Regions from separate parts of the Homo sapiens genome. Here region 2 is linked to region 1. Evidence: promoter capture Hi-C in human tissues and cell types (Jung and others, 2019). All regions are on one chromosome and are shown on one strand. The core of a region is centred on a gene start or on the middle of the fragment in contact, and the rest is flanking DNA. Distances in the headings are between cores, read along the strand shown. Region 1 holds the start of MN1 (MN1 proto-oncogene, transcriptional regulator). Region 2 has its middle 18 kb from the start of LINC01638.

Region 1 (3,657 bases), core at 606-3,105:
GGGAATCGGAGCCGCTGGAGGACGGCAGGCCGTGGAAGGAGGCGGCTCGGTTAGGGCTCTGGTCCAGCGGCAGGCATGGGGCCGGCACGGCGTGGCTGGAGGCACCTGAACTGTGGAAGTCCGGGAGGTTCCCCGGTCGCTGCGGGCCGAAGCTCTCAGGCCCCTGGCTCTCCGCCATGTGCTCATAGCCCTCGGCGAAGGGCGGCTGGCTGCCCAGGCCTCCGGCTGCGCCGCCGTAGCCGAGCAGGCGACCCCCGTGCAGGCACGAGGCCCCGGGGTCCGGGCCACCGAAGTTGCCCCCAAAGTGGGGGTGATGCTGGTGGGGATGATGACTTCCCGGGTGGCCGTGGTGAGGCTGCTGGCCGCCAAAGAAGCCGTGCACAGGCTGCGCTTGCAGCCCCCCTGCGTGCAACTCCGAGTGGCCGCGCGCGTGGAAGCCGTAGGGCTCCATGTTCATGCCCAAGATCGGGGGTTCGCCCAGCGCGCTCATAGCAGGATCCACAGGGCCAGGGGGCCCCCCAGTGTGGAAAGCCGGGGCCTTAAAGTGGGTGTTCATGCTCAGTCCGGTCTCGTTAAAGTTCCTCTCGCCCTGGCCAGCGTTCCTGCTGTTGACCTGGGGCTCGAATTGGTCCAGCCCAAACATACTTGGCGGGGGGCAGAGGGGGATCAATAGGGCATGACAGCCGGCTCTCCGCGGCGCGCCTCCGGCCAGCTACTCGTTCCAGCCCAGGATTGGGCGCTCCGGGACGCTCAGCACCGCGGGGGCTCAGCGCGCACCTCCACCCCGCCTGATGTGAGGGACGGGGGGCGGGGTATTAGCTCCTCTCCTGAAGCTCCGATTCTGCCCGGGGAGGGCCTCTCACATCTTGCGAGGCCGCGGGGCCTCTAGGAGCCGTGTTGGGGGGCCCATGCCCCGGGCGGTTGTCACAGCCGCGGGTGGGTCTGCGGGGAGGGGACGAAGCCGCGGATGAACGGAGACAAAAAGTTAAGTGGGGGGAATGGGGAGGGAAGGGGGTTGGGAGAGCAGAGCGATCACCTTCTCAAGTCCGATTGGGTCTGCTGGGGAGCCCTCAGGACGCCGCCCGCAGCCTCCCGGAGTCCGTGGCAGAGCTGCTAAGGGCAGGGGAGGGAGACCCTTCAAAGCCGCGGCTGGCGCCGGGCACCGACAGAGCGGTCCCTCCCCCCGCCCCCCGGAGTCCCCGCGCCCCGCAGCCCGAGCCTCCACCGAGCACGATCCGCTCGCACAATCCCCGTAGGCTCCGGGCGAGCGGCTGCTGCTTCTTCAGCGGGTCGGAGGACTGGAGGCTCCGCTCGGCATCGCCGGTGCCGGCCCCCGAGCCGAGGACGCAGAGGGGCTGCGAGGCGGCAGGCGCCGGGGGCTGGAGCCGAGGGTCGGGGAAAGGCGCGGCTCCTCTGCTCGGCAGCGGGTGCGCTGCGTTCGGCGCGCAGCTTCGCGGCCACGTCCGCCGCCTGCCGCTTCTGTTCTCCGCCGTTGGGTGTCTGAGTTCGCCGGAGTCTCCGCGCACCGTTGCAGGCGCGGGAGGGCAGCGAGACGAGGGGTTGGGTCGCTCCAAGGCTCCGGTTCCCTGCCTCCGCGCTGAGGTGCTTCGCGAGTCCCTCTCGGACCTGAGGGAGGGGGGCGTACGCGGGTCGGGGGGCCACGCCGGGCGAGCAGGCTAAGGCGTTCCCGCTGCGCTCTCAGAGCCCGGAATGGGGGGAGGGGGGCGCGGGGGCAGCTCTGGGGGGTCTGCGCACCCCTCTCCCGACTAGCGGGGGGGCTCTGCGTGGGGCGTTCCGAGGGTCTCGGCTCCCCTCTCTGTGTCTGCCTCTCGCCCAGCGCCGGGAGAAGCAGCAACAAGTTTTGCATTTCAGCAATCAATTTCAGCCATTACATTTGCACCAATCAGCGCCGCCCAAGTTCCGGGCTCGGGGCGGGGCTCGCTCTTAAGGTGGTCCGGGGTCCTGGCTGCCGAAGCCCCCGCCACGAACCCGCACTACCCCAGCTCTGGGGTCCCCTGCGCCCGCCTCTCCTCGGGGTCCGGCGTCAGTGCGCTGGGGGCGCGCCCCGGCCTCCGGGCGCATCGAGCTGGAGAGGGTGCAGGCGGAGGAGAATGGCGGGAGCTTGGCTTTGTTCACCCCCTTCCCATTCACACTGTTCCCAACTCCCCACCCCCAACTGGAGCGAGACCCACCGGGTGGGCAGGGGGCGGGGAGGTGGGCGGTGAGCGGTACGGGGCGCTCAGACAATGAGGTCGCCAGGCAAAGACCCTAGACTCGCCACGGAAAGTCGCTAAGTGTCTACTGCACTTCGGCTCCGGGGTGAACACTCCGTTCTCCGCTAGCGGCGCCCAAGTTAGCCGGCCCTGGGATTTTCTTGGAGGGTAAAGCAGACGGGGAACCTCGAAGTTAGGGTTCTCCTCGAGAGACCTGGGCGCTTGCTCACTCCTCCGTCACTAGGGCGTTCACAATTGTTCCCCTTCCCCACTGCCTGGGGTTCCCGGTTCTCACCGGCCGGCGTGGGCTCCAAGGAGTCACAGTCACTCAGCCACTTTATGGGGGAGCACATCGGTTGAGCCCAGTAACCGGAGCGACTTGCGAGGCGGCTGGGAACCCCGAGAAGACACGCACGAAGAGGGCGCACCCGCCGGGCCGCACACCTTGCCCTGGGCCACCCGGTCCAAGACCCAGACCCTCTGCGGGTGCGAAGTTGGCCTCCTTAAGAGATCAATTAAACTGAAGAGGCCGAGGAATGGAATTGGGCTGTGATACTAAAATCAATAGGAGTAATTTAATATCTGCCCTGCTCTTTATGAAATATTTATCCCAATAATCTTAGTTAAAATGTTTAGATCGTCCTGATCCCCACAGAGGCTGAAATCTATCTTGCAATTAGAAGTTGGAAGTTAGAGGTGATGGAGGATAGAGGTGTTTATTCTGTGCGCCTGTGTGCGTGTGCTCGCGCCTGCGTGCGTGTGTTTGTGCATGCGTGTGTGTGTGTGTGTGTGTTCCTCCCTAAAGTGTGTGTAGGGAAGGAGGGGGGAGAAGGCCTTTAATTTTCCTTGCCATAAAATAGCACGAGGCGATTTTGCTAGCAGATTCGCATTCTTAGGAGAAGGGCGAAAAAAGAACTTTCTTTGAAGTGCCCCTGATATCGCTATTAAATCTAAATAAAATTAAGCGTGGTGTATGAAAATGCCTTTCCCCCCCCACAAAAGAAAGTGTTTATCGCCCGAGTCTGTCTAGCGTTTGCTAAATTACGCATGAAATCTGAAATGAAATAAACGTTATAATAAAACCAACCCCTGAGCCCTTTTTATTTAAAAACCTTAGATTAAGCACTCCACCGTCGCGGGCAGGAGTTAAAAAGTTACCATGTCGTACGCGCAGATTCATTGCTCCCCTGAGTTGCGGCTAGGAAGGCAGTGCTAAGTATGCCAGAACCGACATGCCGGGGGTGGGGGGAAATGGGCTCAACTTTGGGGTAGCGGCAGAATTCCTAAGAAATTGCCCCCCGCCCAAAAAAAATTTTAATTAAAAATAAACAAACAAGAAAAAACAACAACTTTAAAACTCAGCCAGAGCAAGCTCAGATCCAAGACCTTTCCCGGGGCCTTCCTGTTGTGGAAGTTTACAGACATATATATTTTTTCTTTTTTG
Region 2 (3,708 bases), core at 178-2,677, 560 kb before region 1:
ATAGTCACTACTTTCATTTCCACCCTATGAGGCAAGTACTATTATTAGTCCCAGTTTACAGATGAGGAAAGTAAAGCCCAGAGAGGTTAAGCGACTTGTCTAAGGTCACACAGCTGTCAAAATGCAGATACAGGCAGGCAGATTCCAGAGCCCCTGCTATCACCACTCACAACAAGACCAAGGAGCTGGGACAAGCTCTTGGTAATGAAAAAACATGACACTGAGGCTAGACTGCAATGAACAAGCTAAGTATCAGGAAGCAGGCAGGGAATCTAACTCTGTGCCCAGCTTGGGTGGCTGCCAGAACATTAGGCTGGAGTGTGATTACTGATCACCAGCCACTGCCCCAGGCTGTGAGATCCCCCAGGGTCTACCTGCCCTGTGAGTGCTTAGCTTATGGCCTGGGCACACTGGAGGAAGCTTGACTCCATCCTCAGTGGGAAAGCCGCATGGATAACAGGTAAAAGGTTGGACTCTGGTTCAAACTCCAGCTTTGCCACCAACTGGCTATCTTTATCCGTTTTGTGCTGCTACAATGAAATACCCAAGACTGGGTAATTTATTAAGAAAAGAAATATATTTCTCACACTTCTGGAGTCTGGGAAGTCCAGTAGCAAGGTGCCAGTATCTGGTGAGGGCCTTCATGCTGCATCATCCCACGGCAGAAGGTGGACGGGTAAGAAAAGGTGAGACAGAAAAAGGGTTGAACTCATACTTTTTAAATCAAGTGCCCACACCCATGATAATTCCCATCACTCCTGTGATGTGATAACAACATTAATTCGTTCATGAGGATTGAGTCCTCATGGCCTAGTCACCTCTTAATTGTCCCACCTCTTACCACTGTCACAATGGCAACTAAATTTCAACTTGAGTTTTGGAGAGGACATTCAAACCATAGCACTGGCTGCGTGACCTTGAGCAAGTTACTTAACCTCTCTGAGCCCTCAGAGTCTTCCATTGTCAATGGGGATACTAAAAGTGTCCTAGTAGGGCTTGGGGGAGGATTAAATGGGTTAATCCTTATGTTAATCCAGAGTTCACCTTTTTGTGAGTGCTAGGAATGGCTAAGTTGCCTAATTTTTGTCCTCTGCCCTAACAAGGGCTGGTCATATCACATATTCTAATTACTCTCTGGGCAAACGGACTCCTATTGCTCCTAGGAAGACAAACACATGGGCACATGGGTCTGCTGTCCCGTCTCGCTGTTTGGCCTTTTCCCAGTAGCTTGCCCTCTCTGGGTCACAGTTACCCTGACTCTACAAGAGAAGGGAGCCAATGCTCTCTGAGGGTCCTCCTAGCTCTGACCTGAACCCCTGACTGTCCCATCAGGACCACATGGTCTCTAAGGCAGTGAGGAGATGGTCTCTGTGGAGATGGCTCAGATCTGGGCCCTGAGCAGGAAGAGGGAGGCACCAGGAGCAGGGATTGGCAAGGGTCTCTTGTCTGTCAAGGTCTTGGGCGCTTTTGGTTTCAGCCGGCACCGAGCCAAGGCCAGGGGCAGACAGCCCAGGGCTCCAGCTGCCTCCTGCCTGCTGCCCTGTGTTTGGCTTTATGAGGCCTGTCCAGCTCCCTCTGGGGCTCATTAGCTGGGCAGCCAGCTGGGGCCCAGGCAGCTCTGTTCCCACCAGGTCCTGTGGGAAAGTGCCACTCAGCACCTTCTCCACCCCAGGAGGGACAGTGCCATTAAACCTGTCCTTCCCCAAGGGTAGGGGGTCAGGCAGGCCTGGGAGGGGCCCTGGGAAAGGCTGCATGTCCCCAGCCTGTTTCTTATTCCTCTAACCTTTCTCCTGTCAGCTCTGCTTTTCTGGCAGCCTGAGACCGGGCATGGGGCCACACAGACCGGGGCTCATTCCTGGCTCTGCCACTGGCAAGCTGCAGCTCCCTAAACAAGTGCCGGCCCCTCTCTGAGCCCTAGGTCCCTCATCTGTAAAATGGGACCTATCCTGAAGGTTTGCCTGGAGGGTTGAAAAGAGATGACAGTGAAGGCGCATAGGTTTACATGGGGACTGGCATATTGAGTATGCTGGAAAGAAGGCCCTTCTTCCTCCTCTGCTTCTTTTTGGCTTCTCTCTTGGTTCTTGCCTCATTATTCCAGGTCCTTACAACTACTGATCTTCCTTCCCTGGGAGCAGAGGGGTCAGCGTCTGCTTGCTTTGCCCTAGAAAAGTTCTCCTTCACCTTCCTCTGAATTTTTACTTCCCTTCTTATTTCTCTGTCTGTCTGTCTGTCTCTCCCTATCTCTCTCTCTCTCTCTCTCATTGTTTGTCAATCTCTTAACAATCTATCCAACATTGGTTTCATCCTCCTTTTCTTGGTATATTGGTGAATTCATAGCTTCTAGTTACTTAGGGAATTATTCCTTCTGTTACAGCACCCCCCGCGCACGCGCGCACACACACACACACACAGAGACAGACACAATAATGTCTATCACCATGGGGCAGTTGGCCACTTACTTCCCGGGACCAACAGCCGGTCATCTGGGTGGGAGAAGGGACAGGGACTGTGCTTCTCACAAAAGCAAGACTTATGCTGTGCTCCCAGGGCTCCATGAACACTGCGTGTGAAGCTGATGTCATCAGCCATCAGACTCTGCCCGCTCCCCAAGGGTAGAAGTCACAGTGTGATTCCTGGGAGGGCATTGCTTCTTATCTATTACTTCATTCATATATAAATAAGACATGTTTGCACTTCCAAGGTGCACCCCCGCCCCGAGGAAGAGGGATGCTGACGTGTAGTAGACGCCTTCCACTCCCTTGCAGAGTGGCTGGGGAGGACAAGACACAGGCACGCAGAGACGGAGCAGCTTTAGAGCTGGAAAGGAGGGAGGGGATCAGCAAAGGCTTCTGGGACAGGGGGTGCAAGCTGGGACATGAAGCCACCCCAAAGGAAAGAGGGGGGCAAACGTGGCAGCACAGGTAATGCCAGGGGGCAAGGTGGTGCACTGTGTGGCTATGGAGCAGTGTGACGACGGCTGCAGGGCAGGATGTAGCCACAGAGGGCCATGAGAGGGACAGAGCAGGTGTCAAGAAGTTATAGGGAGAGCCCAGGAAAGACAATTTGAGGCCGCTCTGGGGAAGACCTGGAAAGCCAGGTTAAGGTTCCCTCCTTTGCAAAAATGTTCCTCAATATCCTCCAAGTCACTTCACCCCTTCCAGATTCATCGGTCTGTGTAAGTTCTGGTGCAGACGTTTCTTTGGTAAGATCATGCAGATAGTCACTCCAGCAAGCCGTTTTCCTCTGCAAACTAACGCGGGAACAGAAAACCAAACACAGCACGTTCTCACTCATAGGTGGGAGCTGAACAATGCAAATGCATGGACACAGGGAGGGGAACAATGCACTGGGGCCTGTCATGGGTGCAGAGAGGGAGACCATCACGAAAAATAGCTAATGCATGAGGGGCTTAATACTTAGGTGATGGGTTGATAGGTGCAGCAAACTACCATGACACATGTTTACCTATGTAACAAACCTGCACATCCTACACAGGTACCCCAGAACCTAAAATTAAAAAAAAAAAAAGGAAAGAAAATTTAAAAAAAGAAAGTCACTCTAGCGATTCAAGCCTCAATTACCCCACCGGCAAAATGAGAACACTAATAACAATAATATGTATTAATATGAGTTCTCCAGGGAAACAGAGTAGATATGAAGAGATTTATTGTAAAGAATTGGCTCCTGTGACTATGGAGGCTGGGAAGT

What was found. Contacts are between HindIII fragments. The study calls those that stand out against the background at their distance.
Region 2: a contact is called between a fragment that was not itself captured here and the fragment with the promoter of MN1 in region 1, in 2 of the 25 tissues and cell types used here (dorsolateral prefrontal cortex and mesendoderm cells).

Annotation. Positions count from the first base shown.
Region 1 is chr22:27,799,901-27,803,557 of GRCh38, forward strand. It overlaps MN1 (MN1 proto-oncogene, transcriptional regulator), which reads right to left and starts at 1,856. Exons shown (of 2, transcript NM_002430.3): 1 at 1-1,856. The coding sequence starts at 643. The HindIII fragment of the contact is 23,630 bases long and covers 1-3,657 here.
Region 2 is chr22:27,240,434-27,244,141 of GRCh38, forward strand. No RefSeq gene overlaps it. Among named protein-coding and RNA genes, the nearest start is that of LINC01638, 18 kb to the left of the region's middle. The HindIII fragment of the contact is 9,759 bases long and covers 1-3,708 here.